6 separate regions of the Homo sapiens genome follow, and all the other regions are linked to region 6. Evidence: promoter capture Hi-C in 16 types of primary human blood cells and fetal thymus (Javierre and others, 2016). All regions are on one chromosome and are shown on one strand. The core of a region is centred on a gene start or on the middle of the fragment in contact, and the rest is flanking DNA. Distances in the headings are between cores, read along the strand shown. Region 1 overlaps ATXN7L3B (ataxin 7 like 3B). Region 2 holds the start of CPSF6 (cleavage and polyadenylation specific factor 6). Region 3 overlaps YEATS4 (YEATS domain containing 4). Region 4 overlaps FRS2 (fibroblast growth factor receptor substrate 2). Region 5 overlaps RAB3IP (RAB3A interacting protein). Region 6 holds the start of TBC1D15 (TBC1 domain family member 15).

Region 1 (4,949 bases), core at 1,831-4,330, 2.7 Mb before region 6:
CTCCCTTACAACCCACCGCTAATTCACTCTCCATGTACTCTGACAAATTTTGCCTAGGCAAGTCATCCTTCAGTTCTCAGTTTAAATACCATCTTCTCAAGAAAGCCTTATTCTTCATCACTCATTACCCAAACTAGATTAAACTTACATGCAGTAGGTCACATAACACTGTGAGGTATATTGCTATCTCCATTATTATGAAGTTGAAGTTCATAAAAAATAACTTACCTTCCCAAATTCACTCTAGTAATAAATGAAAGGATGAAGATTAGAATGCATATATTTGAGTATGATGCCTACAAACTTTTTCCTTCTTCTTATACTTTGTATTTTTTCTCATTCACGTAATTCACTTAGATTTTTCATTAATGCAGATACTTACTACCTTTCTCCTCTTCTTGATTCTTGGTTAACTATGCCCTATTTAGTCTATATTCTTCTTTCCTTTTGCTACCAACTGCTTTCCTTATTTTTCTTCTTCTGTCAGTGCTATCTGGGAGACTTATATGTTTTGTGTTTTAAGCTAAACCTCCCAAGTTATCCCTGGAAAGTACTGTTTACTTGACTGCTATTTTTTTTTACTTGGAATTAATTCAACAGAAGAGATACAGTATTAATATCTCTTGAAATATTTAAGAAAATAAATAATAGTGACATAGTCAGCCCTAGTTTTGCACGGTGTGAGGGACTATAAAAATGATCATGCAAACCAAAATTGTGCAAAGCAATGTTAATAATAAATAGGAATAATTAAGATCATTTGGTGACAATATTGCAACAAAAATAATATTGTTGCAATATTGGAAACTTTCTTATTAATAAACATGATAAACGTGATGAATGTACAGGGAAATAAAAGAATAGTAAAAGCAGTATTTACATACACTGTGATTTTAAACATTAGAAACATTGAGAATAAATGTATTTTATTTGTACAAAATTTATCAAGAATAGTTTGAACTGACCGAGCGCAATGGCTCATGCCTGTAATCTCAGCACTTTGGGAGGCCCAGGCGGGTGGATCACTTGAGGCCAGGCAGGGGTTCGGGATCAGCCTGGCCAACATTGTGGAACCCTCTCTCTACTAAAAATACAAAAATTAGCCGGGCATGATGACATGTGCCTGTAATCCCAGCTGGTGAGGCTGAGGCAGAAGAATCACTTGAACCCGGGAGATGGAGGTTGCAGTAAGCCGGGATCATGCCACTTCACTCCAGCCTGGGTGACAGAGCTAAACTCTGTCACACACACACAAAAAAAAAAAAAAAAAAAAAAAAGAAGAAGAATAGTTTGAACGTTGCTATCCTTCTTCTCATATTCTCATATGTAAATCAAGATATAGAGCAAGCACCTTTTCTGTGCCTTGGTGAACTGACATACTCCTAAATCTGGATCAGCTTATGACTGTATTAGGTTTTTATTGTTGTATAATGACATCACAAACTTAGCTTCTTAAAACCTTCCTTTATTTTCTCACAGTTCTCTAGTTCTAAAGTCACAGTCTGCTAGGCTGAGCTTTGTGCTAAGGGTCTTACAAGGCTGACAACGAAGTGTTAGCTAGTTTGGGCTCTTATCTGGATGCTCTGGCAAAGAATCTGCTTCCAAGCTCATTCAGGGTTTTGTTTGTTCGTTTTTTGCAGAATGCAATCCACAACCTATTATTGCCTTAGGTCTGATATCCCCATTTCTTTGCTATCTGTAAACTGGAGGCCACTCTTAGCTCCTAGATGCAGCCACATTCCTCTCATGTGGCCCAGTCCATCTTCAAAGCAAGCCATGGTGCACTGAATCTTTCCCACACTTAAAATCTGTCTTCTTCCACTACTAGATGAAGAAAACTCTGATTTTGAAGTGCTTATGTGATTGGGTCAAGACCACCTACATAATCACCACATGTTAAGGTCAACTGACTTGGGACTTTAATTACATCTGCAAAATCCTTTCACAGCAGATTACTATTTGGTTGAATAACCAGGGGACAGGAATCTAGAATTCTCCTTAGCATACTTGAGACTGAGTCTCACTCTGTCGCCCAGGCTGGAGTGCAGTGGTACGATCCCAGCTCACTGCAACCTCCATCTCCCAGGTTCAAGTGATTCTCCTGCCTCAGCCTCCCAAGTAGCTGGGATTACAGGCACTCACCACCAAGCCTGGCTAATTTTTGTATTTTTACATCGTATTTTGTATTTGGTATGTTGGCCAGGCTGGTCTTAAATTCCTGACTTCAAGTGATCTGTCCACCTCGACCTCCCAAAGTGCTGAGATTACAGGCGTGAGCCACCGCGCCCGGCCACAACTTACCTTTTGCACTTTCAGTATCTTGAAATATCTGACATAACACCTAATGTCGTTTATTGACAGCTTTGTTTCTTCTGAAACATCTTCATTCTTTTTCATTACGGCCAATGTTCTCATTGACTGAGTTCTTCTGGCTGTATATCTTGGGCCTCTAGAATGTTGTGTCACCATTCTGAAGATCAGCCATCTTCTAATTACATTCAATTGCAATTCAAGTGTTATCACTTTTTTTCTTTGCTGCACTTTCACTTTTTGATTATCTATTTTATTTAAAAAATAGCATGTAAGTTTATCACTGGGAGACGAGGCAACACAACTACTCTGCTGTGCATGAACTGCTTCATTCTGATTCATTCCTTCTCTTTTTCCAGCTTGATTAAACTGAGATTTTACCTATACAATGACGTTAAATTTTTTTGGAATACATTCTTTGCACTTTTATTTCTATTACTTTAATTTTTAAAACTGCATTATTTTCTCCTGTTCTTTGCTCGTTTAAAATTCCATCTACTAATGTACAGATTTCATTTAAGGCCATATTCTGTATCTAATAATTCTGAGAAAGTTCTAATTATATATAGTCAGCAGAAATAATAAACTATAGAGTTAGAATTCCTTTCTTGTAAACAGATTTATTAGATAAAAAGTATGATGGCTATAAATGAAATCTTTAAAGAAACAGATGCTTCTTTTATTGCAAACTTATATTTTGTGAAAATGTTGAAGGAACAAAATTTTGTCAGGTAGCCAAGAGGTACAATATCATTTTCAATACATTATGAAATTCTCAGGTCAAAGTTTCTCTGACTGGCAGGGTAGGGTAGCTATGTGAAACCAAGTGTATGGGTACACATTCCCAAAGTAAATGTTGATGATAATGGCATGACTGTTATTATTTTAGTCAATTCATTTCACCTCAGGCAATAGCAGAGTCTTTCTTTTTCATCTGTTCTCTCTAAAGTAATGAAGGTTTCTCTTATCTGTCCACCCATTAATCAATCATTTATCAATCTATCTAGTTTTACTCTGCCCATCCTTTCACCAAGGATATAAACTTTATTTCAGGCATCTTGCATTTACAGTTTCAATTTGTGATGATCAGGGTCTAATCTCCCAGTATCATATGGTATCTATATTTTCCTCAGTGCACTCTCCTTTTCTGTTTTCATTTGTATCTTTGGGGTGTGTGTGCGTTAGAAGAAAGACCTGGGTATTCTGGGTATTTCCTTCACTTCCTTGGGAACACAGTAATGCATTTAAGAGTATCTTTACCTCAATTTACTTAGCATACTGATGTCCTATATCAATTAGTCTGCTATCTACAGGAACATAACCATGAAAGTGGAAGTCTCATCCAATATTTTTGGTATAGTTTTTATTTCATATTCACAATTATTTAAACAACATACAGCATTGATTTGCCTATTGTTAAACATCAAAAGAAAGGCAACAAAGTATAAGAACATAGGTTTACTATTTTATTTGTACAGCTCTGGTTAATTTATTCTCACTTCAGTATAGTGACTATATGTATTCCAAATGGGTATATTACTTTCAATTTTTCCCTATTACATATAATGCTGCAACAGGTGGAAATATTGGGATATTGGTTACTTTTGTCTTCAACCACAACAGGTATTTCTAAATTGCTTTTAAAAACATTTTTTACCAATTTACAGCCTACTAGCAGTTTAAGTGTTTTAATTGCTCCATATGCCTTTCAGAGTTGATGTCATCACCATTTAAAAAAATTTAATCATACTGAGTAGGGTAAATTGGTATTTTGTTTTTAGTTTGCATTTCTTTGAACCTAAGGGAACTTTTACAACTTTTTGGCCATTCATATTTCTTTTTGTAAGAATGAGCTGTTCTTTTACTTTATACATTTGGCAATTGTACAACTATTTTGTTAGTAATCTTTAATCAGTTATAAGAACTAAACAACTAGCACATCAGGTTATTGGTTTGTTTGTTTCTAGTATGATTTAATGAACAGAAAGTTCTATTTTTATTATGGTCGAACACATCAATCTTTTCTCTATGTTTTGTACTTTTAAGAAATTTTCCCCTTATACACAATTATGAACACATCCTCCTATATTTTTCTAGAAAGATTTGACATTTTTTACTTTTACACATTAAATCTTTAATCCATATAGGAATTAATTTTGTGTCTGAGCACAGTTTTATTATTTATGGATAATCTGTTCCACAATACTGGTTTATATTCCACTGATTATAATACAAATTTAACCACACATCAAGACATAAACGTGTAATCTGTGTGTTTCGATCTAATTCTAAACTCTATTCTATTCCATTGTTTCTGCACCAAAACTAAAATATACATCTGTCAAAAAGATCTTGTCTATTCTAGCATCTGGTGTTCATATAAATCTTAAAATTAATTTGTCAAGTTCCATGAGCACATCTATTTGGATTGTAATACAGATTGCTTCCGATTCACATAATTTGGAGCAATGATATTGATTGCATTTTCTGTGCGTGAACATCTTCTCTCCATTTACTTGGGATTTTCCCAACATATTAGAAAATATTATTTTCTTTATAAAATCTTACACAGTTCTTGTGATATTATTTCATAGGACTGTTATAACTTGTTGAATTACATTCTAAATTTAATAACACTT
Region 2 (4,922 bases), core at 1,173-3,672, 2.6 Mb after region 6:
ATCCCAGCTGAGGCAGGAGAACTGCTTGAACCCAGGAGGCAGAGGTTGCGGTGAGCCAAGATCGCGCCACTGCACTTCAGCCTGGGTGACAAAGCGAGACTCCATCTCAAAACAAAACAAAACAAAAAAAAGAAGTAAGTTTACAGTATAAGGATATAAAGAAAATATTTTATATAGTTACACAATGTGTTTGTATTTTAAACTGTTATTATTGAAGAGTCCAAATTTATAAAGTAAAAACGGGCCAGTCACAGTGGCTCACGCCTGTAATCCCAACACTGGTAGGTCAAAGCAAGAAGACAGCTTGAGCCCAGGAGCTGGAGACTAGCTGGGACCTCATCCCTACAAAAAAAATTTGAAATTAGCCAGGCATGGTGGCACATGCCTGTAGTCTCAGCTGCTCTGGAGACTAAGACAGGAGGACTGCTTGAGCCTGGGAGATAAAGGCTGCAGTGAGCCACAACTGCACCACCGCACTCCAGACTGGATGACAGTGAGAAAATAATCAATCAAGTGAAAACATTACAGTAAGCTCATGTATTATTGAAGAAAAAAGTTTAAATAAATTTAGTGTAGCCTGAGTGTACTGTACAGTGTTTATGAAGTCTACAGCAGCATGTCCCAGATCTTCACATTCACCCACCACTCACTTGCTGACTCTCCCAGAGCAACTTCCAATCATGCAGGTTCCTTTCATGAGTGCCCTACACAAGTGTGCCACTTTTTATCTTTTATATCAAGATTTTCACTTACCTTTTCTGTTTAGATATATTAGATACACAAATACCACTGTGTTACAACTGCCTACAGTATTCAGTACAGTAATATGTTGTACAAGTTTGTAGCCTAGGAGCAACAGGCTACACCATATAGCCTACATGTGTAGTAGGCTGTACCTTCCAGGTTTGAAATGCAAAAGCACTCTATGATCACAAATGACAAAAGCACCTAAGATGGACTTCTCAGAACATACCGCCATCGTGAAGCGACACATGATTGTAGAACAGTTTACTGTCATAAAAGTTAGCTAAATATAGTATCTCTCAAACTACCTTATTGTATGTAATATTTTCAGACCTCAGAACCACGGGTAACTGAAACCACAGAAAGTGGAACTGTGGATACGTGTGCACTACTGTATGTAGGTATCTCTCAGCTCCCCTACAGTGTACTCTAAGGGTAGAGACTACCTAAACTTTGTATCCCTCGTTGTTGGCACATAACAGACACTCAACAAATGTATTTTGAACAATTCAATCTTTTTTTTTTGAGACAGGGTCTTGCTGGAGTGCAGTGGCCCGATCTTGGCTCACTGCAACCTCTGCCTCCCAGGTTCAAGCGATTCTCCTGCTTAGCTTACTGATTAGCTGGGATTACAGGCAGGCACCACCATACTCGGCCAATTTTTGTATTTTGATAGAGATGGGGTTTCACCATGTTGGCCAGGCTGGTCTGCAACTCCTGACCTCAAGCGATCTGCCCACCTTGGCCTCCCAAAGTGCTGGGATTACAGGCATGAGCCACCACACTCGCGCTAAACAATTCAACTTTTAAATTATTTAGTTTTGGCCAGAATTTTAAAATCTACAATTACTAAATATTGGGCTAGTAATTACTACACTTGAGTATAAATGCAGTTTAAACTGAATTGATATGCTACTGTGAGACAGAATCACTTTCTTCTCAACTTCAAGTAATAGAGAGGTTTGGAAGATGTTCAAATTCCCCTTCCAGCTGTTCTCAGCTTGGTGACATCCAAAGACCTCTAAGAACTAAAGAGAACCCATAAGGAGTAGCCAGTCCCTTGTGCCTCCTCCCCCCTTCATTCTCCATTCTTAAGTTCACCTGGTGAAGAAAGGCACTCTATTAGAGCTTCACTAATTTATTATTCTCAATCTATCCCCAAATTAGTTTCTGCTAAGACTGTTGAATGCCTCACTTTTTTCTACTTCAATAGATGCAAATCACTTTTTGAAATAATACTGTGCCTTACCAAAATACAAAAAAGCTTCATAAAAGTATGACATTTAAAATAGAAGACTCAGCAGGATACAGACAAAAAATAGTAGAAAATGGAAATAAAGACTATCCCGAATTTCAAAGTATACAAATCCAATGAGAACTGCAGTTTACACTGGAAAACAAAGATTTTTTTTTTAATGTTTACAACAGCTTTGAAGCCAAAGTAAGTCAAAACTGGCTACTATTTAGTATTTTACTCAACGACAATAAAACAAGAGTTCTAGTCTACTATAGCAACTAGTAGAAATAAGGTCGCCAGCTAGTAAAGATTAAATCAGTTGTAAATTATTTTGTGGTTGCCTCTAATTCTGGTAAGATTTTGGAAAAATATTTCAATGACAGTAACATATTTTTAAAAACAAGATAAGCTCTGAAAATAACCAACTATCCTTTTGTGACCTTTTTTTTTTTTTTGGTACAGAAACTACCACAGCAAGAAGCGGTAATGTAAAAGGATATACAAATCAATCAATCATTGATTGGCCAATGATATGCAAAGTAGCAAAAACAATGCCTCTATTTATCCTCGCCATTAATCTATTCAAACATATAAAGATTTTACTGGTAAAATTATACAACTGTGTTAGACGTAATGCAGTAGGTACCTTATACAAATCATTGAAAACTTACATTTAAAAGGAGTTCCTCATTGGGTCCACAAAACTAATCTCTTTTTACCTCCTGCCCAGTCAGCACTTGCTACTGCACAGGGATAAGAATCCACCCAGCTATCCGGATAAGGGAGATGTCCCTCTCAAATTAAGTATGCAAAAGCCTAAAAATATTTCATTAAGAGGTACTGAAAAAAGCTTAACTTCTAAAATTGAGACCCAATTCTTCTTTTATTGTGCATAGAAAGGTGAACCAATGTATTATCTTGTAAGTAAAGCTAATAAAGGCAGTCTTGAACACTCAATCGTTGTTCCTTGCAGTTACAGCCCTCTTTTAAACGCAGTTATATTCATTTGATAAATAAAAGGAAAAAAATTTCCTAGAGGTCTTATAAGCGTTAGAACCTGTGTTGCACTCGAGGAATGTATCTGATTTGTAATGGACACAACTCAAGTATTATTATTTAAAACATAAGCACAATTTTAAAAACACAAAGATTTAAAAACTTAACCTTTGATTACAATGTATTACATTTAAACAAATCCAGTCTTTAACTGAATAGCAAACATTTAAAGCCAACTGGTATTTTTCTGTTTTCTAATATTTAAACCAGAGGCACAAAGTCATTCCTGAAAAATAAAACAGTAAAGATCTCTTGAGTTTCCTTGTTTTTTAAAAAGCCTGAGCAACTAGTCACGAATATGATGGTTAATGGAGGTGGGAAAACCACATTAGCCAGTAATATTTCATTAAACTTCTCATAGGGACCTGGGAAATACAAAAAAATAAGGCTTTTAGGAACATTGCAGTTAAGCACAATTTAATTGTTTTAAATGTGTTACTACATAAAATGCAGTAGATACGAACAGCAGGTTCAAACCTTAAACGTCACTAGCAACAAACGACATCTTTTGCAAGGATGCCCATTAACAGACATCACAGCCCCGCGTTACCTCTAAGCAACGTCGTTCAGGAAAACCTTGCATTCTCACTTTCGCTCAACCTTTCAAAAGGTAACACGGGGCCCGGGGGTGGGGGTGGGGGGATTTAACACTTTGTTTTCGAAAATAGGGTCTTATCTATAACTCTTTATTTTTAAACCACATCATAAGGATTTGGGGTGAACGTTCTTTCATTTTAATCACTATGAGATCTGTGGGTGAGCTAACATCTTTTTGTTCCATCCAACCATCGCGCTTCCAATTCTTCCTTTTGGTCCCCGGCCACTCATCTTCACAGGTATTTTCATCACAAAGGCCAACAACGACTGGGCTTCAAAGCACTGCAAGCCCTGGATTAATGAGGCAGGACCAGCGCACCGACTTTTATCTGTGGCTCCAAAAGTCAAAGGACTTGTTGCAAATGAGCCCGCACCTCAGTCGCCTTCAGAAAGTGTGAGGGGAGGAGGAAGGCGCCACGCCGAAACCTGTCGCAAACCCGAGAAGGAGAGCCCCGGGGACTGGGCGCGCGGGATACAAAGGGCCGTGAACGCGGCCTTCCATGAGGCGACAGTGCGCGGGCAGGGAGACAAAATGGAGCGATGGGAGGAATCGGAGCCCGAGCGGCAGCGGCGGGGAAGGGGCGGCGGCGGCGGGCACGCGCCCCGCCAGGGCTTCCTCCTCCGACCAGCGACGGGGGAGGGGGCGCGGCGGCGGCCAGTTCTCTCCGCCGCTTACACGCGGCCCCACCGCCCGGGCCTAGCGCGGCGGGAAGCGCCAGCCGGGTGCCGCCAACAATAGGGAGCGAGGCAGCGCCGGCGAGGGAGGAGCCGGCGGCAGCTGCACAGCGGCCCGCGTCCGCGCTCCGGGCCCCGCGGCGACTCGCCGCGCCCGCGGCCCGTGAAACGACGCGGTAGAACGAGGGGCGGGGGGGCGCCACGCCAGGGGTCGGCGGCGCGGCCCAGAGGCGGCAAGGGCGCACACTCTGCAGTCGCTTCGGCTCGCGGCCGCAGCGGGCCCCGGGTCAGCTTCCCGGCCGCAGCGCCGCCCGCGTCGGCGGCGGGGACCTGGGCTCTCACGTACCTGGTTGAACTCTTCGCCGACATCCGCGTAAATGTCTATGTGGTCCACGCCGTCCGCCATCTTCCTTCAGCCTCGGCCGCCGCCGCCGCCGCCGCCTCCTGCAGGTCTGCCCGCCGCGGCAGCAGCAGCGGATCTAGCGGCGGTGGGGGGGCGCTTGCGTCACTTCCGAGGCCCGAGGGAGGGAGGCGCGGGCGACAGGGGCCGGCCGGGGGCGGGGACTCTGCAGCCCAGCCGCTCTGCTGGCTGAGGAAAGGCTGCGCCTCTGAG
Region 3 (4,577 bases), core at 1,152-3,651, 2.5 Mb after region 6:
GCTAAGGCAGGTGGATCACTTGAGGTCAGGAGTTCGAGACCAACCTGGCCAACATAGCAAAACCTCGTCTCTATCAAAAATACAAAATTAGCAGGGCGTGGTGGTGCACACCTGTAATCCCAGCTACTCTGGTGGCTGAGGCATGAGAATCACTTGAACTTGGGAGGCAGAGGTTGCAGTGAGCTGAGATGACGCTAGTGCACTCCAGCCTGGTCGACAGAGTGAGACTCTGTCTTAATGGGTGGGGGTGGGGGGGAAGCGTTAACTACAAGTATTCTTAAATTTATATACAGGTGAAACTTTTTTTTTTTTTTTTTGAGATGGAGTCTCGCTCTTGTCGCCCAGGCTGGAGAGCAGTGGCATGATCTCAGCTCACTGCAACCTATGCCTCCCAGGTTCAAGCAATTCTCCTGCCTCAACCTCCTGAGTAGTTGGGACTACAGGTGCATGCTGCCATGCCCGGCTAATTTTTTGTATTTTAGTAGAGACGGGGTTTCACCGTGTTGCCCAGGCTGACTGCGAACTCCTGAGCTCAGGCAATCCGCCCTCCTTAGCCTCCCAAAGTGCGGGGATTACAGGCATAAGCCACCAGGCCCGGCCCAGGTGAAACTTATAAACAAAATCACACTATCAATACAAGCCAATATCTTTTTTTCAAATAGGTGGCAATAACTGCTAAAATTTGAATCCCAGCTCTGCCACTTACTAGCTGTGACACTGTAAGCTATTTCACCTATGTTCCTCACTTATGAAACAGAAATGATAATGGCAAATACTTCATAATATTATTTGTTGAGAAAACTTTTGAGACAGGATCTTACTCTGTCACCCAGGCTGGAGTGCAGTGGTGTGATCTTGGCTCACTGCAAACTCTCACTCCCGGGTTCAAGTGATTATCCCACCTCAGCTTCCCAAGCAGCTGGGATTACAGGTGTGAGCCACCACACCCAGCCTGTTGAGAAGACTTAATGAATTAATTTATGTAAAGTACCCAGAATACTGCCTGGTACAGAAAAAGCCCTATCAACTATTGTTATGAGAAAAGAGAAACATTAAGTGATATCTGAAACTATCTATCTATAACAAAGTACTAAAGAAATGTTACTGCAAAACAGGACACATCTATTTAAATATGCCACTTGGATATGTAGCATGATGTTTTACAAAGAAAAATATCTGCTTGTGTCTAACATTTCCATCTTGTGGACATTTTTGGTAACTGCTGCTCACTATTAAAGTACACTTATACTTACTTTCACTAATAAAAGATGGTCACTAATTGGAAGCCAGATGGTTTGGTGGGAAAAAAACCCAACTATGGAAACAGAAAAGATCTGATTTCAAATAAACCCTTGCTTCCTTATTAGCCGAATGCTAACATTTCTAAGGCTCCATCAATCTCTTTGTACGATACAGCTAAAACTAGGTATTTCTCAGAGGATTTACGAAGATTACATGAAGTAATTATATGTAAAGCATCTAGCACATAAAAAACATGCAATACACGGTAAAACCCTGTCTCTACTAAAAATACAAAAAATTAGCTGGGCATGGTGGCGAGCACTTGTAGTCCCAGCTACGCGTGAGGCTGAGGCGGGAGAATGGCGTGAACGCAGGAGGCGGAGCTTGCAGTGAGCCGAGATCGCGCCCTGCACTCCATCCAGCCTGGGCGACAGCGCGAGACTCTGCCTCAAAAAAAAAAAATAAAAATAAAAAAAATAAAAAAATTCAATGAATATTAATGAGTTCTTTCCTTATTTTGCTCATTGCTGGTGACTTGCTTTTTGTGATTGTCAAAACAATTCATATTTTACTTTGTAATTCTTTTCATTCTTTTACAAATTATTTTTATACATAGGTAGTACACACAAGATTACAAATTAAAAGATTAAAGAGTAGACAGTGAAAAAATATGCCCTTCTACTACACTTGTTCCCCAGCCTGCCATGACCAATCAGTGCTTCTTCCCAGAGATAATCACTGTTGTGTTCTCTGATATCTTCCCAGAAATAGTCTGCTGATATACAAAGCATATACCCAAGTGCAGTTTCTTCTTCTTCCCAACACAAGTGGTATCATTCTATACACATTGTTTTGCACCTTGCTGTTTCACTTAACATTATATCTGGAAGCTCACCCTATAACACAGAGCTGTCTCATTCTTTTTAATGACTACAGAGGACCTAATTGAATGGATAAATAAAATTCATTTAGTCTGCCCCCTATTGATGTACACTCAGAGTATCTCCATTTTTTTCTTTTACAAACAATGCAATAATGTGTATGCTGTAAATAATCATTTTAGTATATTTGTAGGATAAATTCCTGGAAATGGAACTGTTATAGAATATATATGTACTTGTAATTCTGGAAGAACATCAAGCAACTCAAAAGGATCTACCAATTTATAATCCCATTAGCATTGTGTCTGTTTCCCTACTGCATCAACTTTTTGGTCTTACCTAACCTGAAAGGTTAAAAACAGTATTTCTGTAATTCGCATTCATCTTATTACTATTGGGGCTGACTCATCTTTTTTATAATGTTTGAGACATTTCTCCCTTTCTACAAATGATCTGTTTTCCTTTTGCTCATTTTCCTATTGGGTTATTGGCCTTTCTTATTGATTTGTAAGAGCTATATACAGCTTTATACAGTAGTCCCCCCTCATCCATGGTTTCATTTTCCATGCTTACAGTTAGCCACTGTCAATAGCGGTCTGAAAATAGGTGAGTAAAAAGTAGAATAAGATTTTTTTGGGGGGTGGGGTGGGGAAAGAGCACACATTTACATAACTTTTATTAGAGTTCATTGTTATAATGTTCTATTTTATTAATTAGTGTTGTTAATCTTTTATTGTGCCTAATTTATAAATTAAACTTTATCATAGGTATATATGTATAGGAAAAAACAGTATATAGGGCTTGGTACTATCTGTAGTTTTAGGCATCCACTGGGGTTCTTGGAATGTGTCCTCTCCAGATAAAGGGGGACTACTGTATGTTAAGAAACTAGTCATTTGTGACATGAGTACATTTTTCTATGGCCTGTCAGTCTTTAGACTTTGTTCCCAGTGCTTTTTACTATGCAGAAATTTGTATTCCCCTATACCCTCTCTCCCCACATCAATTTAAAAAACACACTGAATGATATGCGCTTTGTTAGATGCTGGGGTACAGAGGCAGGAAACAGGTAAGAAAAAAATGCACTAATGTTATGAGGTAATCATAGGGAACGACAAGAGTAGACTGGATTCAAATCAAGTAGAAAGGGTGAGTTTTATGAAGGAGGGCTTCTTGGTAGTAGTAACATCTAAACTGAATTTTAAACAATGAGAAAGGAGTTAGGTAAATGAAGTGGGCATACAGGCCCAGGAAGCAGCATAAAGACAAGGAGTCCTGTATAGCTGTAAGCGGTAGTTTTAAAACTAGCCAGGGAGACCTGATTAACTCAATTGTCAGAAGGACAGCATTCACTGTAGATATAACATAGATTTGTTGTTTGATTCATGATACTTTTATTTTTGACAACTTGTAAGACTGCGAAGGGCACTAGATGTTTGGAAGAAGACATGAGTTAATTAGCAATGAGATCCTGGGGGAAAACATTTTAAAACTTCTTTTAGCTTGTTCCAGTGTTCTGCTTCCTATGTGTTAAATGCTTATACAAAAAAAGAAAAGTTTCTGTTTTTAATTTCCCAATGAAGCTCAATTTCGAGAAAACAAATCCAAAGAATTACTACTTTTATAAAGTCAGTTCAGCATACTGGTTAGGAGACAGACTATCAGGCTTTTTACAACTTATTAGTTAAGTGGACAGATTTTGGGTTTAAAATGCAGGCTCTACTGGGTAATTTTGGGCAAGTTATCAAATCTTTCTAGAGCTTTTACCTACAAAATGGTGCTAATCATAGTATCTTCCTCCTAGGGTTATTTTAGAGTATTAAATAAGTTAAGAAATGGAAAGTGCTTGTCAGGTACATAGTAAGCTCTCACTAAGTGTTCACTATCATTTTTACTATTTCTTGAAGAAGCAACTAAAAAGCTAGATCATTAGTGCTTAAACTTCCAATATACTCCATAATAAATATTCTCTCTATAAAAATACTATTAAATTTTTGGAGCCTAAGTTCTGAGGACTGCCAGGGATCAAGTTCTGATTCTACTACTAACTAGCTGTGTGACCCTGGGCAAGTTTCTTAACCTCCTTATACCTCGGTTTCCTTTTCTAAATATTACCTAATAAAGCTGTTATAGAATTAAGTGAGTTTATACATGTACAGACTCAGAAGAATACAAATAGTAAGCACTGAATAAGTCTGGCATTTTATTATTACTAAATATTGACTATCATATGCCCTCAGATTATTAAAACTATACATATTTTTTAGACCTTTGATTAATATTCCCAGATAGCTTTCCTAAAGAGCTAAATTTATACTCACAAAACAATTCATGAGAGTGCAAAGTTTACTCTTAATCGGTACAACTATTTAAAATTCCTGGCTGGCATGGTGATTCATGCCTGTAATACCAGTACTTTAGGAGTCTGAGGTGGAGAAACCTGCCCCTACAAAA
Region 4 (4,924 bases), core at 443-2,942, 2.3 Mb after region 6:
AAGGGGAGTTCAGGCTGGACAAATTGTTATTTTAAATCTCCCAAGAGTTTTCTCTTCTTTGTAGGAAAATTTGGTCTTCTTTCAGGAAATGTACTTTCCTAGGCAGATCCCAAATCGCATTCTGGAATGAGAAGATTCACAATAAAAAACTAAGATGCCTGCACAATATTGAAAAAGGTTGTTTTTATTGTGGGCAAAATTACATACCTGGAGATATTTATTATGTCCTCTGGTAGGCAAGCCTGAGACTGTGTGTGATGGGGAAACCAATGACTGCTCCCTGCTGGGCTTTGAATGTAGCCAGAGGCATTTGGATGGGGAGAAGGAGGCAGGCCCTGCCACCTTGTGGAACTGAGGCTAGAGGCAGCCAGGAAGAGACTCTATGATGGGACCCTTGGAAATGTGTCCTTTCTCCATTGCATCTTTTGACCCTTCCTTCTTTCCTACTTCCCCCTCCTTTGATGACACCTCTACACCTAGAGGCTAAACACTCAGCTTCTAGACCCAGACTATATGAGTTTGAATTTCAACCATTTTACGTACTAGCTTTGTAGTCTTGGGTGGGTTTCACAGGCTCTTTAAATCAGTTCATTGAAGGCCATTCAGAGCGTGATCAATGTGCTGGTTTACCAAAAACTGTCTCTTTTAGCTGTTTATACTTTTTTGTTGTTGTTGTTGTTGTTGAAACAGAGTTTCACTCTGTCGCTCGGGCTGGAGTGCAGTGGTATGATCTCAACTCACTGCAACCTCCGCCTCCCGGGTTCAAGCAATTCTCCTGCCTCAGCCTCCCAAATAGCTGGGACTACAGGCATGCACCACCACAGCTGGCTAATTTTTGTATTTTTAGTAGAGACAGGGTTTAACCATGTTGGCCAGGGTGGTCTCGAACTTCTGACCTCAAGCAATCTGCCCACCTCAGTCTCCCAAAGTGCTGGGATTACAGGCATGAGCCACCACACCTATATATATATTTTTTAATTGAGACAGGGTCTTACTCTGTCACCCAGGCAGGAGTGCAGTGGTGTGATCTCCACTCACTGCAACCTCTGCCTCCTGACTTCAAGCGATCCTCCGACCTGTCTCCCGAGTAGCTGGAAATACAGGCATGCGCCACCACACCAGCTAATTTTTTGTATTTTTGGTGGAGACGGGATTTTGCCATGTTTCTCAGGCTGGTCTTGAACTCCTGAATTCATGCGATCTGCCCACCTTGGCCTCCCAAAGTGCTGGAATTACAGGCAGAAGCCACTGTGCCCATCTATTTATACATTTTATCGTAATTTGTATTAGATAGGTTACAGGGCCTATGGAGATAGTGAGACCTTGGGAATCCATGTTTCTGTGATTAAACACGTTGTGTGACTTTCTCCTGGCTCATCTTCTGTCCTCTACTCTCAAGTCCCTTGGTCTTGGCTTCTCTTAGTTAACCCTTCCTCCTCCCTCAAAGTCTTTGTGACCCTCTCCTCTCTATGACCCTGTGTCCTCCTCTCTCTTCCCCTTGGTATAATTTGGCTTTCAGTGAATTGGCTTTTTGTTAACTGGTCAGCTTCCAGTTATATAATCTCTCTGTGCCTCAATTTCCCTTTGTGTAAAATGGAGATAATTATCACAGATTAAATAGCTTAGAACAGTGCCTGTTTAGCTTAGCTATTGTTATCATTATATCCCAAGTCTTCTAATAGGCTTTATAAATATAGTAGCCGAGGTTGGATATGCTTGGCATGTTATGGAAGTAGGAAAGCACTGTAGCATATCATTATTTGATGGCTAGAGGTGATTTGGGAGCAAGGGTAGATTCATTAACTGGAGTGAAATAACTGGCGAAGTGGCAAACAACCACCAGAACAGAGTTATGGGACTTGTCAACATTCCTCAGGAACAGTTAGAATACCTGGGGAAGGAAACCAAATAAAGGACCAGGAGTCCACAGTCACATTAAGTTGGGTCCACCCAGACACCTACTGTTTGGGTAGTAGGGAGAAGGTTAGAAGACTTGATATTTCTCCTGTTGCAGACCGTGATAGTTTGTACACAGGAATCAGTCTGTGGAGCACACTTAGAGGAGCACTTTAAAAAAAAAAAAAACAGGGTCTCATTATGTTGCCCAGGCTGGACCACAGTGGCAGGATCACAGTTCATTGCAGCCTCAACCTCCCAGGCTTAATCTATCCTCCTGCCTCAGTCTCTTGAGTAGCTGGGACTACAAGCACACACCACCACGCCAGTTGATTTTTGTATTTTTTCATAGAAACAGGTTTTCACCATGTTGCCCAGGCTGGTCTCAAACTTCTGGGCTGAAGTGATCCACCCTCCACAGCCTCCCAAAGTGCTGGGATTACGGGCATGAGCCACCATGCCCAGCCCCCAAATATATCTTAAATCTCAATGAACTGACACCATCAACCATCTCAGTCACCCAAACCAGATAACTGGGGGTCATCCTTGACCCCTCCATTTCTGTCATTCCCCTTATCAATCAGAGGTGTTAATTCTTCCTCCTTTAGGCCCTCTATTACATTGGTGGCCCTGAATAAACTACACTTTTGATGTTCATGCTTTTATATGAGCCACTGTAATTCAACAAAATACAACAGAATTGACATTGTGCCAGTTCTGGGCTTAGGCCTCAAGAAAGCCTAGCAGCATCTACTTTTGTGCTCTTGGGAACCCTAAGCTGCCATGTAAGAAGACCACATGAAGAAAGACCCAAGACTTCATGGAAGAAAACTAAGGAACACAGCTGAGAGCTTTAAGTTCCAGACATAACCTAGTGGAACTGGTCCAGCCAGCCCTCAGCTGCTTGAATCATACTAGCATAGGCACAAAGCATATGAGGAAGCCAGGCCTCCAGACATCATGTGAGATGAGCCATCTCTGCTGTGCCCTGCCCATCTCGATCTATAGCAACTTGAGACATTAAATGATTGCTGCTTTAAGCCACTAACTTTTAGGGTGGTTTGTTGCACAGCAGTAAACAATCTAAACAGTCCTTTAACAATGCCTTTGAATACGGATTTATCAGATCTGGCTCCATTTCTGAAAAAGCCTCTCAACCAGTCTCCCTGCTTTATTAAAATACCGTAGGGCCAGCTACTTGGGAGGCAGAGCCAGGAGAATGGCATGAACCTGGGAGGGGGAGCTTGCAGTGAGCCGAGATGGCGCCACTGCACTCCATCCAGCCTGGGCAACAGGGAGAGACTCCGTCTCAAAAAAAAAAAAAAAAAAAAAAAAAAAAATACTGCGCCCTTCACGTATCCATGTTGTCAGAGAAATCTTTCTAAACTATTATTTTTCTGGTGTTTAAAATCCTTCAAGTTCTCTCACCTAATTTAAACAAAAGCTCCTTAGGATTCTGTGATCTGTTTCTCATTTCTCCTTTCTTCTGTATCCCCCAACCCTGCCTTTGCTCTCCATGCGCTTAGTCATTTGGAACCTCTTGCAACCACTGAATGTCATGATCTTTCTATACCTCTGTGCCTTTGCACATGCTATCCCTTCTCCCTAAGACATCCTCTCTAAGCTACAAAGACTTTCAACAAACCACCTCAGGGATCACCCCCTCTAAGAAGCTTTGCTTGAAAACCTCCACCCCTAGGCTGAGTTGGATGCCCTTCCTTTGTGTGTGTCTTTATCATGCCAGTTACATCAATCACTTGTGGACATGTCCATCTCCTTCATTGTTTAAATAATTTCCATCTTGACCTGTACTCAACTAAGGCTTTGCAATGTCACTCAGTGGCTAAAAACAGGTTTGAAGTCCCAGAGCTGAGAACTACTATTTGGAATGATCACACAGCTAAAACTGTGAGAAAGCCTGTCATATAGTTACAATTTCATTTTGATATCTTCATTTTGAAAATGGAGGCAGTGATATGAGACTAGGAAAGAAAATGTCACAAAGTTTCAAGTAGTATGTGAAATATAAATACAATAAAACTTTTAAGTAGATATCCGACCAAACGTTTTATTGGGGTTTTATTGCAATCTACTTTCAGCAATAAGGGGAAAGTGAGCATGAAAAGAACTCCAATCAGACTTTATTCAATAAAGCAGCTTTTCATGAATGCTTCAGGTCAGTGTATGATCAGCTCAGCTTCCAGTATCAACTTGAGTACCTCATTATGGATATTTATGCTAGAATGACAACAGTAAGGCATTGCAAAATCCAAAGTCATCTAATATTAAACCATATTTTACATAATTTGTAGGACAGTATACTAATACTCTACAATAAATAAGGATTTAAAAATGTGTTGCTTAGCCCTTGAACTAAATTCAATTACTAGCTTATTCTAAGTACTCCAGTTAATAAACGTTTGATTGTAAAGAACTCTGACTTCTCCAAAGATAAAAAAAATTAGTTGTCATGACAAAAATTAAGCTTAAAAAGCACATTCACACTTGTCCTTAAAAGCAAGTTTACATCATATATGAGAAAACTTTTCATGCCTGATGACATGGCTTATATGGCAAAAAACAGTCATATGCAAAGGACAACTAGAGGGCAATCGTCCCATCCCCACTTCCTCCAAAAAGCCACACTCGGCCTCAGTGTAAAAGTTATATTTTATTGCCATGCTACAAAATGTATGAAGTTGGCACTGATAGGGAGAAATAGAGAACAAAGGGTGGGAAGGGATAGAGGGAAAATTATGTTGTTACATATACAACAAGGTTTTATTTTAATTAACAGTGGTTACGTTTTGCCAATATTAAAAATGCAAACCAAAATTTAAAATGCTGATCTGAAACAGCATTAAGATACAATGTATGCATAGTACAGTATCACTTATGTCTTTTTATTAGAGAAATATGGAATGTTTATAAAAGAAATTAACCATGGGGGTAAAATTCATATTTCATATACAATTTGGCAATGGTAGTCCCACTGTTGGACAATTTTTTATAAAAGAAAAAATTAAAA
Region 5 (4,591 bases), core at 1,797-4,296, 2.1 Mb after region 6:
CCATGCCTATAATCCCAGATCTCGGAAGGCTGAGGCAGGAGAATCATTTGAACCCAGGAGGTGGCAATGAGCTGAGACACTGCACTTCAGCCTGGGCGACAGATTGAGATTCCAACTCAAAAAATAAAAATAAAAAAAATGCCAAACCAAACAATATAGCACATCATTTCTTCCATAAGATACAGAAGTAGTCATTTGTTAAACTAGCTGAAAAATTTAACTCTCAAATCCTTAATAAAAAGTGTTAATACAAGTAGAGAATAAAAACAAAAAGATTTCAGCAAAGTTGAAAGAGATCTGACTCAGTATCATTTCAAAATTACAAATTAGTATGTGTCACAGACTTTCCAGCATATAGACAACCCAAAGTGCAACAATTAAATCTACAAATGACAAATTTCAAATCCAATCAGCTGTTTACTAATAGCAAATGATTTATTCTTCAAAATGAAACTAGTCCTTGCTTTTTTCACATAAAATATTCACTATGCCAAATGAAAGATGAGATTAATAAGGAATGTAAGGTGTTTAATACTCCATTAAAATTTATTATTTTTTCACCCAAAAGAATTTTCATTTTTTATTCATAATCCATATACCCACATATACCAAGAAAACTGCTATATTCAAAGTACATAATTCATTTTCACTTGAATATAGTTCAGGCAAGTACACTAACCAATTCATTAACATAAAAAACCTTTGTATTACGTTTGCATTAAATTTTGACATTTTAATCAGTAACTATTTATGATTCTTTCTTCTATCCCATATACTATGAATTCACCTCTTTATATCCTGAAGGTTCACTGAATCATAAAACGTAAAAGCATTTGCATTTCTGGAAATACAAAATAGTACAAATCCTATGGAGGAAAATTTAGCAATAACTTCAAAATGATATTAAACCTGTGACCCAGCATGCCACTCCTGGGGCTTTATCCTAAAGATAAACTGGCAACATGACAACAGCACTCTTCGTAATAGCAAAAAACTGATTCAATGAACCAGGGTACATCCTCATAATGAAGCACTGCACAGATGTAAAATACATATCCATGTATCGCTATGAAGTGACATCGAAGATATACCAGTAAGATAAAAAACAGGATAAATAACAGTAAACTACCTTTTATCTAAAAAAGGAGAATAAAAATAAATAAATATATATATATAATTTTTTTTTAATGGAAAGGCTAGGTTCAGTGGCTCACACTTGTAATCCCAAAAACTTGACACACAGAAGCAGGAGGACAATTGTGGCCAAGAGTTAAAAGACTAGCCTGGGCAACATAGTGAGATCTTGTCTCTACAAAAAGTTGTAAAATTAGCTGGGTGTGATAGTGCAGGCCTATAGTCCTAACCACTTGGGAGGCTAAGATGGGAGGATGGCTTGAGCTGAGGAATTTGAGGGTACAGTAAGCTTTGATTATACCACTGCACTCCAGCCTGGGTGAAAGAACGAGACCCTATCCTGAAAAAAAAAAAAAAAAGAACAAAAGAAAAAAAAGCAGGCAAAATGGTTACCTATAGAAGGAGAGATGACAGAGTGAAAAATATGAAAGCTAGACTTTTTTCTGTAAGTACCTTGCTTTACAGATTTGATTCTGAGCTTGGAACCATGTAAACAGTAAAAATTAAAGTTTAAAAAAGAATCCCTAAACATAAAGCAAATAAACTTGTGTACTGAGATGGTAGCTTAACCACACAGAAAAGAACTACTTCGAGTGATTTTAAAACATAACAACATAAATATATATCCCTAATGGAATGTATTCTAAAAGCAAAAGGAAGTGAAAAAAGTCACAACCTATTTTCAATGTTAATAACAGTAGTAATATTGATACTGTGATTCTGAAACTTTGTTATAAGATGAAGCAAATAAGTTATGCTAATGTCATTTGGAACTAAGATTTTCAGCATATTAGAAAAACTACAAATATAAAATCAAAGAATTTAAATCCTAGAGGCCTAAATTTTACTCAGAAACACCAGAAAAAAAATTCTAAGTTTATCCAATGAAAAGTTGGTCAGCATAGCAACGCTGACCAACTCAGGAGCCATGCGCACCCATGTACTCAGAGTAATACCATGTCCTCCAAAAAAAAGAACACAGGCTCCTTGGGAAAAATGGCTGATTCCAGCCTGGGACAGAAATGTACGAAAGGACCCTGGAACATCTTGTTATACCAGAAAGCAAGCACACCATCAAAAACTACTGGACTGATATCAAACGGACTCCCACTAACCAAAAACGGGACAATCTGAACATCAAAAAGGATAATATCTGCAAAGAACTGAAAGGCAAATATTTTTAAATCCATGAGGTCATAATGACACTAAAAATAAAGCAAAGTACCTCACTGGCCTTCTCTGATCAATGCTATGGAACCAATTCATTATTTTCAAAATTGGTAAATAAAATGAAAGAATGAAGTATTTTATCTGGCTTTCCTGTATATCAAAGAACTGAACAGCTCATGAGAAAAAGTTCTTTTTAGCAGAATTCCACTTAATAAATATAACTTTGGAATCCTAATGAAATAATGGATTTAGGGCAATAATTATTTAAATAGCTATTAAAACCATAAGGTAAAAGGTTGTTTGAGGAACTTTATAGTTAATCAATCAGAATGACAGTACCTGAACTCACTGATCACATCTTGTCACAAAAACGGAGACAATCAAACATTATGTATATTATGTGGCAAATAAGAAATGAACATCACTGCCATTAATAAAGCATTCTGGCCTAAGAAAAAAAAAAAAAAGAAAGACCCCAAATCAAACAAGCCTCTTGATGGTCATCAGTTTATAGTAAATACAGAGGAGAAAGGAACATGTTAAATAACACCACAGGGACAAAAACAGCAAAATCTAGACTTTGGGAAACTCTCATCATAAACAAACTACTTGGTTTTTCCAATAAACTGTAAAAAAAAAAAAAAAAAAAACGAGGTAGAGGGAATTTATAAACTTAAGAGAATTAACTAAACACAATCTGTGGGCCTTGTTTGGATTCTTCTTTGAATAAACCAACTGTAAAAACAAATTATGTTATTAGGAATTATAGTTAATTTTAGGGATAATAATGGCATAATGGTTGTATTTTTAAAATCCTTATCTTTTAAAAAAGATACACACTGAAGTATTTATAGATGAAATAAGATTACTTGGATTTGCTTCAAAATAATCCAGGGAGAGAGGAAGGGAATGGGAAGCCAAGGAGCCAAGTCATTCAACTACCAGCCCCAATCTCACAGGAAGTTAAGGTGGCTCCTCCCATAACAGCTAGTATTCGTTGAGCACTTACTAAATATTAAGCATAGCGCATCTATGGTTGAGGAAACTGCAGCTTAGAGTAGTCAGAATTAAAGCCTACCGTTATTAGACCCTACTGTCCAAGCTCTTAACCACCACGACACACTTACAAGTAGAACTGCTTTGCCACTCCATTGTTCCACTGTTCTAGTGAAAATGTTTCTCTTAGTTTTGAATTAAAATCCATCATGCCTGCAACATTAACCCTATTTTTCCCACATATAAACACAGTATTTCAGCCATTCTTTCAGCAAGTATTTACTAATGACCTACTCTGTGCCAGGATCTGGGGAAAGAAGAAAAATCTACTCTGCCTTCAAACAGCCTATTAGAGTAGGAGACTGACAAGTAGAGGCAATGATATGTGATAAATGCCACAGAAGATGCAAATAAACTCAGAGACCACACGGGAAGGACAAATAAATCAGAGACAAAGGATTCCCGAAAAAATAAAGCCAAAGGAAAGATCCAAACAACAAGCAAGAAATGAGAAAGACAAAACCTTTGTAAGGGCTTTCCAGACATGTCCACCATGTGAAAGCAAAGCATTTATACAAAACGCAGTTACTCCATTAGCTGGAGCACAAGCTATGAATATAAAGTACAAGTCTCGAAGAGAGGCAGGTTTGAATCCCACTTCTGTCAAATTACTGAGACAATCTGAGCCTAGGTTCTCCCATCTGGAAATCTGTGTCTTGGTTTTGCTACCTAACAGAATGAAAATTAAAAGGGATAATACTACATAACAGCAGTCCCCAACCTTTTTGGCCCCAGGGACCAGTTTCGTGGAAGACAATTTTTCCACAGACAGGGCAGAGGGTGGGAGGAGATGGTTTCGGGATGAAACTGTTCCACCTCAGATCATCAGGCATTAGATTCTCTTAAGAAGCATGCAACCTAGATCCCTTGCAATGTGCAGTTCACAATACGGTTCGCACTCCTATGAGAATCTAATGCAGCTTGCTGATCTGACAGGAGGTGGAGCTCAAGTGGGAATGCTCGCTTGTCCGCCACTTACCTTCTGCCACTTACCTCCTGCTGTGTGGCCCAATTCTTAACAGGCCACAGACCACTTTAGGTCCACAGCCCAGGAACTGGGGACCCCTGTTATATAGCACTTAGGACAATGCCTCTGAGCAGTGCTTCTAACCTACAATGTTTCCCTTCTGGGGGATACATTTAAATACTGTCTAAATTCAAGTCACTTCTGAAAAGGAGATTATTTTGAGATTAAATTTAATCCCTTTTTCAAGCACATAAAATTTCCATA
Region 6 (4,662 bases), core at 1,302-3,801:
TTGTAAATGTGTGGAGATAATTTCTGAAACTAGTTTGGTTTCAGAGACCAAGCTCTTAACCATTACCTTTTGCTGCTTCCCTACAAGACAGAGATTAACTTCCTCCATCACTTTCCGAAACTCCAAGTTCAAAGCAAGTAGAGTTTTAAGAAAAGTTACATCCTAGGTGGAGACACTGAGAGACTCTAATTCAACAGAGCTGGTAGCCCACCATCTGTACTTTTATTAAAAAGTATCACGAGTGATTTTTGTGAGCCTTGGTTAACATTCACTCCCCTGGATTTCTAAACTAGAACTCTTAGCTAAAACTTGAAGGGAGAGGGGAGATGAATAAATAAACACACACACACATTTTCTCCCCATCCCCTTTCCTAAAGAAAAAAGATTAGGAAGTAGGGAAGCATAAAGGTATCATGTCTTTTTATGTTACATTAACCAGCTTTCATTATTATTATTATTATGCTGACGATAAAAAAGTGAAGAGTTTTCATTTGCTTTTTAAATCAAGAGATTATCAGGTTTGCGCATTAGAAAAATAACTCCAGTGGTGGTGTAGAGAAGATTAAGGGCAGAGACTGTAGAAAAGGAGTAAAATCAGCCAAGAAATCAAGAATAGAAGCAGACTAAAAGCCTGAACTATGCGCTGATAGTAAAGAAGATGCAGTAAATTTAAGAAACCTCTTAAGGTAAAACTGGTAGGACATGGTTATTGATTAGAGAGTGTTATAGGAATGAATGCCTCCAAGTATGTTTAACATGCAACCAGGTGAAAGATGATGCCATTAAACCAGATCTGAACTTACTGAGAGAAGAACAAGTGGGTTTTGTTGGTCATGATAGTATTACTTGGGAGAGGAGCAGCTTTTGGCATGGAAAACTAGTTTCAGTGGAGTGATGGCAATAGATGTGAATTTGCAGTGAATGAGAATAAATGAGGTTATGAAGCAGAATTACTAAATATAAGTCTCACTTTAAGAAGTCAGACTATGAAAGGTAGTGGCTGCAAAGAGTGAAAAATGTTTTTCATTTCACAACTCTGCTTCATTGCCTCAAGGATTCTTTCAAAATCAATCCAAACCTGAAAGAGGGAGATGTTTAAACGGAAGGGATCCCCTCTTGAAAAGTCCCAGCCTGGATCAGTTTAGATGGAAAATCAAACAGGATAATCTTCAAATACGCAGTAAGTCAAGCAGTATATCAGCATCCACCCTGAATATAAAAAGAAAAAAACTGACAAGACAACCAAGGAGCACGAATAATCCAAAAAAGGATGCCCACCTATCCTTTAAAAGAGCCAGTAGGTACAAGTGTGTAATTTTATGTTTTTTTAAAAAAAAATTTATATAACCCTAACAACTCCAATACAAGAAATAATGATTGGCATCTCCTCCATTCTACAGATAAAGAACGCGAAAAGACAAAAGTCACAATTGCCCAATTTTCCAAGGTCATACTTCAGATTAACAGCAAAACCAAGCCCATATTTGTCATTCAGCCGCCTAGTCTAATACTCCAAACACCAAACCACAAACGCTGTCAAATAATTCAAAATGGGGTAGGGAAAGCAACAGGGAGACATGAGTGAAACTCAAGGAACAGAGGACGCTATCTGCAATGAGTAAACAACCATTAGTGTTCGATGAGTCACTTCAGTTGATTCCAGCTGTTTATGAAATACTCCTGCACTGGGAAATACTATCGGTGGCATATCATAAAGCTGATAGCCCTAACTATGCATAAGATGTGCCCTCGGAACGCGAATAGGCACTATTCGACGAAATCTCCGCACGTAATTCTAGTTTCCAACGAAATTAGGCGTGTCACTGACCACCTCCGTAAACCAGCATGACCAATACTCCTACTGAAATGCCTAGGAAATAAATATTTGGACGCCTTCCTAGACAAGCACAGGATGGTGTAAATCTCCATTTCTCTCAGGAAACACGTCCTGCTGCTCACAACCACCAACCAACTCAGCAGCTTGGTAAAAACAGACCCAATACACTCGTTTCTTCTAAGCGCACAGCTAGCTGCCTAGCATCTATTCAGCTCCTCCCGAAGGAAGCATAAACATCTTCACCAAACTGTAGCAAAGAAGACAGAGGCAAGTCGGGTTAACGCTTCAAAGAGAGAAAAGACGCTGGAGTCAGAAGAGTAGACATAAAGAACTAGAGTCAAGAAACAGTGAATCGGGGGAAAAAAGGAACTAGAGAGCCACCTGTCCCTTAGTAAAGGTAATACGAATAAAAGCCTCTCTGCTCTGGGGCAGAAGAGCGCCGAGGCCTAGCTGGCCTTGGAGCAGTAGCCGGCTCTATAACTCCGCGGCTGAACTGGCATTCTCGGGAAACCAGCTGGTACCACCCAGTCTTCTCCTACAGACGCCACGGGTTGTCCGGACACAGAAAGTCCCTCGTGTCCCTCCCCCAACCAGCTGCCAGGGAGCAAAAGCATCCCCGTCCCAGAGAAAAGCCGAGGTCTTCCTGGAGGCCGTTACCTACCTTCCCGCTCACAACACCCGCCGCCGCCATGTTTCCTGCGCGTGCCTGGTAATGACGTAGCAGAACCTCACGTGTCTCTCGGACATACAACAACATCCGGCAAAACTAGAATAACATCCGGGCGGGAAAAGGGCGGGGAGTGGCGGGAAGGGAGTGGAGGAAAGGAGCCGGGCGGAAAAAAGCCGCCTGACGCGTGCGTGCTGAACTGGGCTCAGAGACGGCTGGGGTGGAGTCTCAGGCCTAACGCTACGCTTGTGCTTGCCCCACGTCCTCCCCAAGGAAGACTGCTAAAATAATGTGTACCTTACTTGTATTGGAGTTTGTCGAGACTCTGAAGCTAGCGCAGGCCACGCCAGTTTGGTGAGATGAAACGAATACCATACTGGAAGCCAGCAAGATTTGTCCTGGTTTTTTGTTGTTGTTGTAGAAAAGGAGTCTCGCTCTGTCGCTCAGGCTGGAGTGCAGTGGCGCGATCTCGGCTCATTGCAGCCTCCGCCACTCGGTTCAAGCGATTCTCAAGCCTCAGCCTCCCGGGTAGCTGGGATTACAGGCGCGCGTCAAACGCCCAGCTAATTTTTAAATTTTTATTAGAGACGAGATTTCGCCAATGTTGCCCAGGCTGGTCTCGAACTCCTGACTTCAGGTGATCCGTCCGCTTCAGCCTTTGCCCAGAGAGCTGGGATTACAGGCTTGAGCCACCGCGCCCAGCCCATTAGCCTGGTTTTGTGGCAGTAGGCAAATCACCAGTGCACTCGAAACCTCAGTTTCTTATAGTAAAATCAAGATAGTGGCGTTGCGGTGAAGATCCAAGAAAGAGCAGCACTAACATGGAGATATCCCAGGCACTATACATGGAGACTTTTCCCCTCTGTATATGAGGTTTCTCTATTTGTCTGGTCACTGCCACTCACACATGACCTCCAGCAAGGTATTTCGATAGGAACTGTGATAATACCACGCCCTCATAGCTGCAGAGCCCAAGGCACATAGTTTATAGCACCTACACATTACTTATTAGCTCTGTGACTTAAAGCAGGTTTCTAAATTTATCAGAGCTTCAGGATGTAAACTGGGAATTACTCCTGCATGGAGTGGTTGTAGGGATTTCATACGACAATACATGTGTGGTAAAATGATTTGTAAAGATACTAAGGTAAGAATTTTACTTGTTCTCAGTGCTGTAAAAGAATGCAGAGAATGATTATATACTACCCCCTTGATAACTCTGGCACAGATCTGGGATTTCCCTAGCTCCGGGGCAGAATAAAAAGTCCCTTTCACCAAAAACACTTGTGTCCATTGAGGTACTTCCGTCTTCACACAGTGGAGAGGGGTTAGAGGCTTTTGAGTTTGGTTGAGGTAGGTGGCAACTAGCTGAACGACAGAAAAGGAGAGTTGCCGGTTATGTGACTACCAGGAACCTAATAGGTGAGGAAAGTGGTGGAACCTTAGGTGGGAATGAATGCGTAGCATATTAGGGAGATTGCGTGCTAGGTATCTGAGATTCCAACCATGACCAAGACCCTTATGCCCAAGCTTGGCAGGGAATCAAGAAAGCAGCTCACCTACAAGGGATGAATGAGGTGGGAAAATGAGAATATTAGCAGTAATCAGCATTGAGTGAAGACTAGAGGGCCTTTTCCAAATGTACTGGACTGAGACTAAGACCCCTAGAACCTTCATATAATCTTGGGTGTGGAGTGGAAAATCCTACTGATGACCCAAATTACATTTTCCACCAGCTCAGAGCATTGGGATGTGGTTAGAGAAAAATTTTAATGTGACATCACATTTCTTACACCCTGTGTTTTAGAGAAAATTTGAAGCCCTTAGCACAGTGCCAGGAATAAAAGGCTCAATAAATGTAGTTATTACTTATATTTTAAAATATAAGTTTGAGAACTACAGGCTTCTCATTGAAAAGCATCATTGGCATCTCAGGTTCATCTGCTACTTCTTGACCTTCTTAAATTTCATCCTACAAGTGTGCCTTAAATAATGGCGCTACCCATGGGCTGGCCTTGGGCCTCTCTTCCTTTTTCTCCAAACACTATTCCTGGGCCGTTATCCTCATATTCTGGCATCAAAATCTCCTATGTACTGATGACTCCCAAATATTCCCAGCCCAAGTCTCTCTTTCCTAAACTCTAGTCCCTGTGTCCAC

The links. Contacts are between HindIII fragments. The CHiCAGO score rates a contact against its expected background, and 5 or more counts as called.
Region 1: a fragment that was not itself captured here is called in contact with the fragment with the promoter of TBC1D15 in region 6 in 1 of 17 cell types (total CD4 T cells); the score reaches 7.7 in total CD4 T cells.
Region 2: a contact is called between a fragment that was not itself captured here and the fragment with the promoter of TBC1D15 in region 6, in 3 of 17 cell types (activated CD4 T cells, non-activated CD4 T cells and total CD8 T cells). The highest score is 5.9, in activated CD4 T cells.
Region 3: a fragment that was not itself captured here is called in contact with the fragment with the promoter of TBC1D15 in region 6 in 1 of 17 cell types (neutrophils); the score reaches 6.5 in neutrophils.
Region 4: a fragment that was not itself captured here is called in contact with the fragment with the promoter of TBC1D15 in region 6 in 6 of 17 cell types (activated CD4 T cells, total CD4 T cells, non-activated CD4 T cells and 3 more); the score reaches 8.0 in activated CD4 T cells.
Region 5: a contact is called between a fragment that was not itself captured here and the fragment with the promoter of TBC1D15 in region 6, in 1 of 17 cell types (naive CD8 T cells). The highest score is 5.4, in naive CD8 T cells.

Annotation. Positions count from the first base shown.
Region 1 is chr12:74,544,138-74,549,086 of GRCh38, reverse strand. ATXN7L3B (ataxin 7 like 3B) reads right to left here. Exons shown (of 1, transcript NM_001136262.2): 1 at 3,657-4,949. Among named protein-coding and RNA genes, the nearest start is that of ATXN7L3B, 8.8 kb to the right of the region's middle. The HindIII fragment of the contact is 7,760 bases long and covers 1-4,949 here.
Region 2 is chr12:69,239,440-69,244,361 of GRCh38, reverse strand. It overlaps CPSF6 (cleavage and polyadenylation specific factor 6), which reads right to left and starts at 4,793. Exons shown (of 10, transcript NM_007007.3): 1 at 4,656-4,793. The coding sequence starts at 4,715. RefSeq lists enhancers at 279-573, 3,477-4,056, 4,057-4,637 and silencers at 4,101-4,320, 4,471-4,922. The HindIII fragment of the contact is 823 bases long and covers 2,011-2,833 here.
Region 3 is chr12:69,385,191-69,389,767 of GRCh38, reverse strand. All of the region lies in intron 6 of YEATS4 (YEATS domain containing 4), which reads right to left. Among named protein-coding and RNA genes, the nearest start is that of YEATS4, 28 kb to the right of the region's middle. The HindIII fragment of the contact is 5,671 bases long and covers 1-4,577 here.
Region 4 is chr12:69,578,807-69,583,730 of GRCh38, reverse strand. FRS2 (fibroblast growth factor receptor substrate 2) reads right to left here. Exons shown (of 9, transcript NM_001278356.2): 9 at 3,938-4,924. Among named protein-coding and RNA genes, the nearest start is that of MIR3913-2, 3.5 kb to the left of the region's middle. The HindIII fragment of the contact is 3,759 bases long and covers 1-3,571 here.
Region 5 is chr12:69,748,907-69,753,497 of GRCh38, reverse strand. All of the region lies in intron 1 of RAB3IP (RAB3A interacting protein), which reads right to left. Among named protein-coding and RNA genes, the nearest start is that of RAB3IP, 12 kb to the right of the region's middle. The HindIII fragment of the contact is 3,242 bases long and covers 1,426-4,591 here.
Region 6 is chr12:71,837,648-71,842,309 of GRCh38, reverse strand. It overlaps TBC1D15 (TBC1 domain family member 15), which reads right to left and starts at 2,551. Exons shown (of 17, transcript NM_001146213.3): 1 at 2,499-2,551. The coding sequence starts at 2,528. The HindIII fragment of the contact is 6,842 bases long and covers 1-4,036 here.